Regions from separate parts of the Homo sapiens genome. Here regions 1 and 2 are each linked to region 3. Evidence: promoter capture Hi-C in 16 types of primary human blood cells and fetal thymus (Javierre and others, 2016). All regions are on one chromosome and are shown on one strand. The core of a region is centred on a gene start or on the middle of the fragment in contact, and the rest is flanking DNA. Distances in the headings are between cores, read along the strand shown.

Evidence for each region. Contacts are between HindIII fragments. The CHiCAGO score rates a contact against its expected background, and 5 or more counts as called.
Region 1: a fragment that was not itself captured here is called in contact with the fragment with the promoter of MYOD1 in region 3 in 1 of 17 cell types (endothelial precursors); the score reaches 5.1 in endothelial precursors.
Region 2: a fragment that was not itself captured here is called in contact with the fragment with the promoter of MYOD1 in region 3 in 1 of 17 cell types (fetal thymus); the score reaches 5.0 in fetal thymus.

What each region holds. Positions count from the first base shown.
Region 1 is chr11:17,553,229-17,556,973 of GRCh38, forward strand. It overlaps OTOG (otogelin), which reads left to right. Exons shown (of 56, transcript NM_001292063.2): 6 at 137-291; 7 at 2,551-2,669. Among named protein-coding and RNA genes, the nearest start is that of OTOG, 7.8 kb to the left of the region's middle. The HindIII fragment of the contact is 984 bases long and covers 759-1,742 here.
Region 2 is chr11:17,929,350-17,933,351 of GRCh38, forward strand. The region is part of intron 9 of SERGEF (secretion regulating guanine nucleotide exchange factor); the gene reads right to left. Among named protein-coding and RNA genes, the nearest start is that of SERGEF, 82 kb to the right of the region's middle. The HindIII fragment of the contact is 1,331 bases long and covers 1,295-2,625 here.
Region 3 is chr11:17,717,175-17,721,050 of GRCh38, forward strand. MYOD1 (myogenic differentiation 1) reads left to right here and starts at 2,397. Exons shown (of 3, transcript NM_002478.5): 1 at 2,397-3,238; 2 at 3,728-3,806. The coding sequence starts at 2,609. RefSeq lists enhancers at 3,346-3,857, 3,858-3,876. The HindIII fragment of the contact is 6,670 bases long and covers 1,879-3,876 here.

The DNA.
Region 1 (3,745 bases), core at 1-2,500, 170 kb before region 3:
CCCACCCCCAGGAAGGGACCTGGGTGCAGGGAAAGCTAGGGAGAAAGGGAGCAGCACTTCCAGGGCTGGAACCCACCAGCCTCTGGCTTGGTGCCCACTGTAGCTACACAGAGAGGTTCTCTTTTCTCTCCCTCAGTGTACAATGCCGGCCCTGAGAGGGACAGCATTTGCCGGGCGTGGGGGCAGCACCACGTGGAGACATTTGATGGGCTCTACTACTACCTCTCCGGAAAGGGCAGCTACACCCTGGTGGGTCGCCATGAGCCCGAGGGACAGAGCTTCTCCATCCAGGTGAGGCCTCCCCTGCCTTGCCTGTCCAGGAATGCTTCTCTAGGCCCTGGAGGCTGCACTGGCCTGGGCTCTACTTGTCATAGTTAGAGAGACTGGCACCTTCCTCCTTGCATCGCCCCCCAGCTCCCACCCAGGCAGTCTGCACCTGGAAGGAGCTGGGGACTCCACAGCTCTCGCTCACCCACTCACCCTGGCCATTCATTTATTGAGCCACTCATTCATCAAGTATTTACTAAGTGCATACTGTACTCTTTTCTGGCATAAGGTCTGGTGGCGGGAGGCCCTGTAGACAACAACACAGGTATAATCTTTGTCTTCTCAGAACTTATAGTCTAATGAAGAAGGACATCAAATCAGAGGACTCATTTCAGGTGCAAATGAGTGCTATGGAGGAGAAATGCCAAATGCTAAACGAACATGTCCTGAAAACCTAATCCTGTTTATTCGGAAGGATGGTGACCTGGGAAAGCTTCCTGGAGAAAGTCACATTTAAGTTGAGGTTTAAGGAATAAATTGGAGTTAGCCAAGTGAAGAGTAGGAGAGTGTGGGCAGACTTGAGAACATTCTGGGGAAAAAGATCATTGGGTGCTAAGAAAGAGACTAGGGCCTCAGAGAAATGATGGAGGTCCTGGGTGACTCAGTTTAGAGTCACCTCCTCTAAGAAGCCACCCTGGATCTCCTGACCTTCCAAGCTGGCTGAAGAGCTCCTCACTGGGTAACTCAAAGTTCCATATTATGACGCTGTCATTGTATTTCTCTTACAAAGGTCTGGTTTTGGGTTGGTTTTCTCTACCAGCTGTGAGCTTCCTAGGCCAGGGGTCATGTCTCTCTCTTTGACAGTGCCTGGATTGGTGCTCAGTAAAGGTTTGTGAAATATAGGAACACGTGTGAAAGCCACTGTCATGCAGGCCTGATTTTCATGCCTAACCTGTGTGCTAAACTGGGAGTCACCTTCAGCCACAGCTCAATACCCCTCCACCTGGAGGAAAGTCTCTTTGGAGAACCAGCTCTGTTGGAGGGCACCTTGGTCAGTACTGAGTTAGGGTCAAGGGGTTGGGGGTGTGGGGAGACCCCAGTGTTCAGTGTCTCCCCTCTGCTAGCCATTTGTGATCCTTCTGTCTCAGTCATGGACCTATGAGACTGCTCTAGGGGCCATGCCCTGGATGGGCGGGGAACTGCAACCAATTTTCCTCTCTCTGCCTCGGCCTATCACATAGCAGAGATTTTCATGACCTATCATTTCATGATGGATATGTTACAATTACTTAGACTAATGCATTGCCATACACTCGTGGGTTACAAAATCAACTTAACGAATCACAACCATCATTAAAAAATGAGACAAATAAAATAGAAAATATTGTAAGAGTGTATTACGCATGATAGAGATAAGTATTATTTTGTAAAATTTTTAGTTATATATATTTCTTATTGTAGGTCATGGTCACAAAAGCTTGAAAACCCTTTAGTTAGACCATGGGGTAGCTTTCACAGTTCCCACTTGTAGTTGAAGTGGCTCCAGCCTGCTTAATCACATTGAACAGTAATCTGATGGAAGGTGCCTTCCTGGGAAGGGTTTCCACACTTGGCAGGGATAAGCTCTGGGAAGCTCTCCCCTCTACCCCACCCCGTCCTTTGGGTCTATGGCCTTTGAAGTCTGGGTTCTGTCTGAATGGCGGGGGCAGAGATGTGTGTGTGTGTGTGTGTGTGTGTGTGACAGCAGCACAGGAGTGAGATGTGTGCCGATGGGTGTAGGGGAAAGTTACAATCTGTACCTGCCAGGGGCATGGGGGAAGGGGAGTGTGTGTATAGTGTGTGCACTGAGAGTGTCATGGGAGAAATTTATGGGGTGTGTATAGATGTGTGTGTTTGTGTTCTGTATGAGTGTGAGATGGTGGAGTATGTCTGTTGGCCTTCAATCTGATGGTATTTCCTGGGTAGGATAAAGAGAAAAGTTCAGAAATACGGAGATGGCATGATTGACTGGGAAGAGCCCTGGAATCTGAGCCATCCAGACCGGGGCTAGAATCCCAGCTCTGGGATTTCCTAGTTTTCTGTGTGTGGCCTTAGTCACTTCACCTCTCTGTGAATCCATTGCCTCCCCTCTGTGATGTATGGGGACTGAGCGAGATCACAGAGGAAAGGCAGTTGGTATGCAGGGGACAGCCATCGGCATTAGTGAAAACTCAATAAGGTGTGAAGCTCAGGGTCAGGCCTGTGGCAGGAGCCTGCAAACCAGCCTCTGAACTCCCTACTCAGGTACACAATGACCCGCAGTGTGGCTCTTCACCCTACACCTGCTCCAGGGCTGTCAGCCTCTTCTTTGTGGGTGAGCAGGAGATCCATCTGGCCAAGGAGGTCACCCATGGAGGCATGAGGTAACTCTAACACCTTCCACATCGAGCTGTCCTATCCCTGACACTGGTGGTGGTGGATGGGTGAGCATCCGCTCTTCTCAAGCCCAAAGGAAATTGTTTTCTGGGGACAAACAGCAATTTCCACTATCTGGGCGGAAGCATACTGGCAGATCACTGGGTTTCTTGCCAGTGGGGTTTGCAGAATGATTTTTTTTTTCCTGGAACTCTCAGATATTGCAGATTTCCAGACAGCAGGCTTTCAGGAAAATAGAGTTTTCCAGTGAGTTGAGAGTTTATCATGATAAGCATGCTTACTTTTCCCTCCCAAAATCTTCCCAAATGGATCATACACAGTTTCTACCTCCTCTCAGCAGATTCGGAGTACACTTCCATTTCTGATGACACAGGGTCATTGTGAATGTCAGTTATCTTGCTGGGCCAACAGGGATGCTTGGAGGACCACCAGAGGAGTGGGGACCCCTTGCTCCCATACTAAAATGCCCCAGACTGTGGTCCTTTGTGAAATCTTTCCTGCATCTCTTCCTCACTGTTCTTTCCTTTCCTTGCTGTCCACTGTCACTTCTTGTTGCTGTCATGGGGTCTTCCTGTAATGACACTTCTCCCTGTCCTCATCTCCTGCTTCAGATCTGGAAACTGGGTGACCAAGCAATTGTTCTGGGGCTGAGTGTAAAATTGATGGCCTATAGGTTTCTCCTGTGAATGAAGAGTTGGTAAATGGGTCTTGTGGCTAGTTAGACAGTACTTTTGTTTCCCTTTCCTGAAATTTTGCTGGGTTCAAGGTTGCCAAATTCCAGGTTGGCTAGGGGTCCCTGTACCAGGAAAACTGGGAAAGTGGTCAAGGCTGCTGGAGCCCGCCATCTTTTCTTGCACTCCCAGTTTTCCTCCTCTCTTGGCTTCTGTTTCCACTTGGTTCCTGCTCCCCACCAAAAAAATAAAGCAGATGTTTGTTTATATTCTATCCTGTCTGGGAGAAAGGAACTTGGAGTCACTCACTCTAAGATTTATTCCTGCCCAGGAAATTGCCGTCTTAAAAAATTTCTAAAGACAAAAGAATCCATCTCTAATGGTATACTTCC
Region 2 (4,002 bases), core at 710-3,209, 210 kb after region 3:
AGGGCAGCTCAGTTTTTGCTCTCTTTGAGACAGGAAGACACCCCATGGCTGTGAAGGAAAGGCAGGACACGTGTGTGGACATTCAAAATATAGCAAGGAAACCCAAAACAACAGAAAGACAAGAGGAGCTGGAGGAAAAAGCTGTTTGGAACTATGAATCATCCCAAGGTAACTTATTATGTTTTTATATAACAAGCAAAATGAGCTTTCAGCATTGCCATTCATTCATTGTTTTAGCCATTCATGCATTTGTTCAGCAAACATTTGTGGGTTCCCATTATATGCCAGGCGCTGTGCTAGGCAGGCAGGCAGCAGAACATCAGCCTACTACTGCTTACTATGTTCCTGCCACTCTAGCCTTCCTTCAGGTCTTTTGCAAGGTTGTTTCATGCTTCAACACAGTTCTCTGTGTAAATGTTTCCTCTTCCAAGAGGTCTTGCCTGATTTATTCCCCCATCCCACCCTGGACTAGATTAGGCTTGTCTGCTCTATATTCCTACAGCATTTCCTTTTTAACATTCTACACATCCATCATTACTTTATAGTCTCAGATAGATGGTAAGCTCCATGTGAGCGGGGACTGCCTCTCCAGTTACGAGCACAGAGGCTAGAATATAGTAGGATTCGATACATATTCACTGAACAAATGAACAAACTGGGATTTATAGCCAAGCTACAGGCTCTGAGAGATATAGCGGAATAAGTGCAGGATTTGGAGCTCAACAGACCCAAATCTGAACCCCAGCTGTACCACTCATTAGCTAGGTTACCTTAAGCAAGTCCCATAATCTCTCTGAGCCTTAGTTCCTCATGTGTGAAACACAGACAAAACTTCATAGAGATGTAGTGAAGATTAAATAACATGATGTGGGTAAAGTAACTGGCACAAAATAGATGCTCAACAAATGTTATCCTCCTACCCACTTCCCAACTTGCCTATAGTTACGAAAGAGTTGACAACACCAAGGCAGGGCCCCAATTCTATCAGAACTTATCAAAACAGGATTCAGGCACAGGAATAAGGGAAGGTCAAAGATAGCATCCCAGATGACATCTTACTGACTCCCAAGCTTTGAACTTGAGCTCCTTCAGTGTGTCTGACCAAGGTACAATACTAGGCCCACGACTAAGCCTACAGATGGAGGATCCAATGGCTGCAGCCATGGGGAGAAGATGGCAGAGACTGAGCCCATTCCTTTTGGCTTTTGAAGCATTTAGACAAAAGCATACAAAACTCCCTTCCCCATCTATGCTGTCCATAGGTAACTTAATGGAATCCAAAGGTCTACAAGTAAGCTTAGTTAGACCAGTGAGGTTAAAGGCAACACAGCACAACAGGAGGACTACACCTAGAATCAGATGACAGGGTTCAAGTCCAAACTCTGCCACCTACTGGATGTGTGATTTGGGACAAGAGTTTCCCTTATTCAGGTCTCATTTCACCATCTGTAAATCGAAGGGATTAGACTAGGATAGTGTCTAAGGGCCCTTACAGTGAGAAAGATCTGAGATGCTAGCTGCATGTCAGTCAGCTGTAATCAGCAGGCAAAAGGAGAACTCTTCAATCACGCACACCACTGAGCTGACGTCTGCTACACTGCTCTCAATTACACTGCAGAAAAAATGGTCATAAGGAAGAGCTAATATGGTATTTCCTGAGCCTATTTAGTCTCCCAATTCAGCACTGCACCTGTTCCTTCTGCATTTGCAATTTACTAGATAATATCATCACAGGCACTCCCTGAAACAGCTATCATTTATTTGTCACTTGCTTCTGTATTTCAGGTATTCTTTCTTATTTTAAATAAGATTAGGTAGAGTATTAGAAAGACTAATCAATATAACTGCCAAATGAAATTTACCCAGAAAACAATTTTCTCCTTTGTTTCCATTGTAATAACAGCAATATCTATAATGAATTGCTGACCTGCAATAAAAATCATACTACTATCAGAAAGAACATGGGGGCAAAAATATAATGCCTACTTCACAAACATGTAATGCCACACACAGTAAGGTAGCCCATTCATAACCCAGAACCTTTTTCTTACAGAAACACTGCAAATAATACTCAAATGTCCTGGGCCTGCTGCCTTGCAATACTAACCACCTCCATCCAAACACATACCCAACATTCACTAAATGCCATTTAATATGTCCTACCCATTCTTCTTAGGGCTGGAGAACCACAGTAATAAGACACAATTACTGTCCTTAGACAAAGTCTCAGCCTAAAGGTCAAGTGGTCCCAGCTGTGAAAGAAAAAGTGGCAAACTAGAACCCAGTCCATATGCCACAAGGTGACTTCTGTGAGCACTTAGGCCAAAGAATGGACTGCAAAACATCACCCAATATCTGCATTATAAAAGACCACTTAATACTGGGGCTGTGGTTCTCAAAGCATAGTCCCAGACCTTAAGTATCAACACCACCTGGGAACTTGTTAGAAACCAAATTCTCAGGCTCCTTCCCAGACCTACTGAATCAGAAACTCTGGGAGTGACGCCCAGCAATCTGTGTTTTAACAAGTCCTCCAAGTGATTCTGATGCATGCTGAGGTTTGAGAGTCACTGCCCTAAAGCATCCAAACTGCTGCATGTTTGCAGTAAAAACAGTAGAAAACTAAGCTTTCAATTAAACCTAAGAGAAAAGCAATAAAACTGGGTAAGAACAGGTTTTTCAATGTATCTTAAATATTGGTGTTTTGGAAAAAAAAACAGCTTTGTCAGAGAAGGAAGAGAAAGAAATGCTGTGCTACATGTATACATATGTAACAAACCTGCACGTTGTGCACATGTGCCCTAAAACTTAAGTATAATAAAAAAGAAAGAAAGAAAGAAATGCTCTGCTAATGCAACAGGGAATGTCTGCGCGTGTTCAAAAACCTCTGCGGCCTAAGGCCCTAGGCCTTTTCCTGTGTGGTGCTTCATTTCCAAATATAGGCCTTTTCTTCAACTGAGAGCCCATCACTTCAAAGGGTGTTCCCACACATTCGCTGGCAGATCTCTCAGACTCAGCAATCATAATTAAGGTCACTTTTTAAAAAAAATTCATAAATAAGAGGATGGCAAGTAAGAAGGAAAGGAGCAATAAATGTTCCTGGGGTCAATAATTTTAAAATGAAGGTAGAATTTTTGAAAGGATGGAAAAATAAATGTGTGCACATATGAGAAAGAGACTGCTTAGAGTTGAATTTGTTGAGCTCTGAATAAAAAAAGAAAGATGGGAGGATCAGCCCTAAGAGGAGAAAGGAGCCATAGAAGGAGAAAGGAGGTAATGAAGGAATATTGAAACATTTCTTAGCCTCTGCCACCAGGTGGTGAAATCAACCCAGCACAGCTTAGTTGCTGCCCAGAGCTACTGCTTGGATTTATCTTTTCTTGTTTGTCATTGCATTGGGGTGGGAATAGAGATGCGGAACAAATGGAGAGGCAGAGCAACTTCAAGCTGGGTGGCTGGGAGCAGGGAGAGTATAATGAGAAATGGATTGTTTTTATGCATACTAATTCAGTGGCCCTAATTAAAGAGCATCATTATATTTTAAAATGCATGGACAATCATGTAATAAAAAGTGCTCATGATGATAAAGGCTATACTGAATTATACATTAATGTTTAACTCCAACTAAGTTTTAAAATAATACATTTGATTTTAAAATATCTGTTTTCCTGGAATGAAACTCAATGTCAAGTTAGGTCTAATGTTATCATCCAAATGCAATTTTCCTCCAGTATACCACAAAATGTTGAATACTGAGGAAGACAATAATAATGAAAAGTCAGCTGTACTATAACAGCAAATTTCCTGTAGAGATGATTTGAGGTTCTACAGGTCACTAAGGAAAAGATACACATGGTTAATCATAAATCCATCTAAAGATAGTTCATTTCTATCATCTTTCATTTTAAATGGAGGTTTATACAACTCTTGGCTTGGAGGGTTGTAAATTTAATAATGTTGTTCCAATTCACTACTAGTCCTCATTGATCTTATTTTAATCTG
Region 3 (3,876 bases), core at 1,147-3,646:
AAAATGTAAATCAGATAGTGATATTCTTCTCTTCCGCTCAAGCCCTCCAGTGAGATGGCTCAAGCCATCTCAGAATATAATCCTGTTTCTCTCTCTCTCACCCCATTTCCCACTATCTCTTTTACTCACCCTGCTGCAGACATATGAGCCTCCTTGCCATACTTTGAATCTGCCAAACATGGTCCTGCCTCAGGACTTTTGCACATGCTTATCCCTCTATCTGGCCCTACATATCTCCAGGTATCTGCTTCCAATTCTCTTCATTCAGGTCTCTGCTTAAATGTAGCAGAGAGGCCTTCTCTAATCACTCCATAATCTTCATCACTGTGTCTCCCTGCCTTGCTTTTTCTTCATAAGGCTTCTAACCTCCTGGCATCACATACTTCCTTGCTTATTTGTTCATTGTCTATCACCCTGCTTACATTGACAATGTAAGTGCCATGTAAGCAGAGTCTTGGTTTTGTTCATTGCTCTAGCCCCACACTTGGACTGGTACCTGCCACATAATGGATACCTAACAATATGTGGATTTCCGGGTGACCCCCTGCAGCTTGGGTGGGGTGAGGCCAGGACTTTGCTGCCTCTGCCAGGATTTAGAGTTACTGTCACTGCTGCTCCATGATGTAGACTTTACTGAATGAACAAATACAGGTGGGCCCTATGGAGTAAAGCGAGGTGAGTACTTCATGAAGGGAGACCTTCAGCACCACTACCAGCAGCAGAGAAGTGAAGAAGTTAGGACCCCAACAGAGCCCTCTGAGTTTTGTGGGAAGGGAGGACTTCTTAGGGCCCAGAACGGCCAGCTAGAATGCCTTCCAGAAGTTAGTGGGAAAGGCACAAAGATCACTCCTGCTTAAATTTCTGGTTTCCAGGAGGGGAGATCCAGGCAGGGATGTATGGCCAACGGAGATTCCTAGCCAGAGTGCTGAGAGGACTGTGTGAACTGCAGATTCAGGAAGAGGCTGAGAGACCCCCATGGGGGTGGCCGGTATGCTGAGGCTTGTATGGGAGCCAGATATCCCACATCCCATGGGGTGGTTGCCTCCTCCTGTTTCCAGCCTTTCCAGTGAGGCTGCAGGAAAGAGACACAGCTAAGGCCTGGAGACTCGTGGCACTCCGTCAGGGCATGGTACCACAGATGAGTTGTAAGCCTGCGGGACACAGCATCCAACTCTGAAAGCCCCTTGCTCGAATAACCCTACATCACCGCCTGAGGGCTTCCATATCCTTGGTCTCTTCAGACTGTCATCCCCACCACAATTACTCCAAGAAATTACTGTCATCCCCAAATCTATAACTGGAAACTGAGGCTCAGGAAGGAGACATGACTTCCACAAAATCACACAGTTGGGAAACTCTGGAGTCTGCACTCAACTGGTCTGCAAACCGCACTCTCGGAGACTTCAGGTGAGATGAGGTCAGGTTCTCAGGCCAGGTCCTGAAGTTTGACACCTTGGCGAAATGCACTTTCCTTGACTCAGCACCGCGAGTGAGGCGGAGCCAAGCCCCGAGCAGAAGGGTTTTCTTCCCAGCTGAAGAGGCAGCTCAGCCTAGACCCCAGGCATGGCACTGGACACCCCTGCTGTGGAAACGTGCAGATTTAGATGGAGGGGATTCCTAACCTGGGCAGGATCCGAGTTTGGAGAGATTGGCGCGAAGCTTTAGCAGCAATCTCCGATTCCTGTACAACCATAGCTGGGTTTCTAAGCGTCTAGGGAAGAAGGACTGGGCCCACGACCTGCTGAGCAACTCCCAGGTCGGGGACTGGCGGAATATCAGAGCCTCTACGACCCGTTTGTCTCGGGCTCGCCCACTTCAACTCTCGGGGTCTCTCCGCCTGTTGTTGCACTCGTGCGTTTCTCTGCCCCTGACGCTCTAAGCTTTCTGCTTTCTGCGTGTCTCTCAGCCTCTTTCGGTCCCTCTTTCACGGTCTCACTCCTCAGCTCTGTGCCCCCAATGCCTTGCCTCTCTCCAAATCTCTCACGACCTGATTTCTACAGCCGCTCTACCCATGGGTCCCCCACAAATCAGGGGACAGAGGAGTATTGAAAGTCAGCTCAGAGGTGAGCGCGCGCAGCCAGCGTTTCCCGCGGATACAGCAGTCGGGTGTTGGAGAGGTTTGGAAAGGGCGTGCCGGAGAGCCAAGTGCAGCCGCCTAGGGCTGCCGGTCGCTCCCTCCCTCCCTGCCCGGTAGGGGACCTAGCGCGCACGCCAGTGTGGAGGGGCGGGCTGGCTGGCCAGTCTGCGGGCCCCTGCGGCCACCCCGGGGACCCCCCCAAGCCCCGCCCCGCAGTGTTCCTATTGGCCTCGGACTCCCCCTCCCCCAGCTGCCCGCCTGGGCTCCGGGGCGTTTAGGCTACTACGGATAAATAGCCCAGGGCGCCTGGCGAGAAGCTAGGGGTGAGGAAGCCCTGGGGCGCTGCCGCCGCTTTCCTTAACCACAAATCAGGCCGGACAGGAGAGGGAGGGGTGGGGGACAGTGGGTGGGCATTCAGACTGCCAGCACTTTGCTATCTACAGCCGGGGCTCCCGAGCGGCAGAAAGTTCCGGCCACTCTCTGCCGCTTGGGTTGGGCGAAGCCAGGACCGTGCCGCGCCACCGCCAGGATATGGAGCTACTGTCGCCACCGCTCCGCGACGTAGACCTGACGGCCCCCGACGGCTCTCTCTGCTCCTTTGCCACAACGGACGACTTCTATGACGACCCGTGTTTCGACTCCCCGGACCTGCGCTTCTTCGAAGACCTGGACCCGCGCCTGATGCACGTGGGCGCGCTCCTGAAACCCGAAGAGCACTCGCACTTCCCCGCGGCGGTGCACCCGGCCCCGGGCGCACGTGAGGACGAGCATGTGCGCGCGCCCAGCGGGCACCACCAGGCGGGCCGCTGCCTACTGTGGGCCTGCAAGGCGTGCAAGCGCAAGACCACCAACGCCGACCGCCGCAAGGCCGCCACCATGCGCGAGCGGCGCCGCCTGAGCAAAGTAAATGAGGCCTTTGAGACACTCAAGCGCTGCACGTCGAGCAATCCAAACCAGCGGTTGCCCAAGGTGGAGATCCTGCGCAACGCCATCCGCTATATCGAGGGCCTGCAGGCTCTGCTGCGCGACCAGGACGCCGCGCCCCCTGGCGCCGCAGCCGCCTTCTATGCGCCGGGCCCGCTGCCCCCGGGCCGCGGCGGCGAGCACTACAGCGGCGACTCCGACGCGTCCAGCCCGCGCTCCAACTGCTCCGACGGCATGGTAAGGCCGGGACCCCAGGAAGTGAGGAAGTTAGGGCGGCGCTCGGGATATCAGGGACGCGTTTCCGAGGGCGGGGAGCTGGCCTTGCGGGAGGTTTGGGCCAGGATCCTTCCCGAGAGAGAGGACCCCCTTGTCCTGGGCAGCTGTCACTGGGGTAGCCTGTTTTGGAAGTGTGCGGGCAAGCGTTCGAGCTGCCCCATTGGGGGCGCTATTAGAACACTGCAGCGCGAACGTGAAGATCTTTTTCTCTACTTATCCCTACTTCCAAAATGTAAATTTGCGCCCCTTGGTGACTGTCCGCCCTTGGTTTGGCCCTGCATGTTGCAGACCTCATCTCCTACCCACCCGTAATTACCCCCCCAACCAGGACAGGTCTGGGCCCGGAACTAGAGCCTTAGGCTAGAGTTAGGGAGGGGGCGGCTACAGGAATTGGTGTTCGGGCCTCGAGCCGTCCCGCGGGCCTGACTCAGTCGCCCTTGCTGTTTGCAGATGGACTACAGCGGCCCCCCGAGCGGCGCCCGGCGGCGGAACTGCTACGAAGGCGCCTACTACAACGAGGCGCCCAGCGGTGGGTATTCCGGGCCTCTCCCTGCTCGCTCCTCCTCCTTCATGGAGCTGTCCTGGCCTCTATCTAGGAC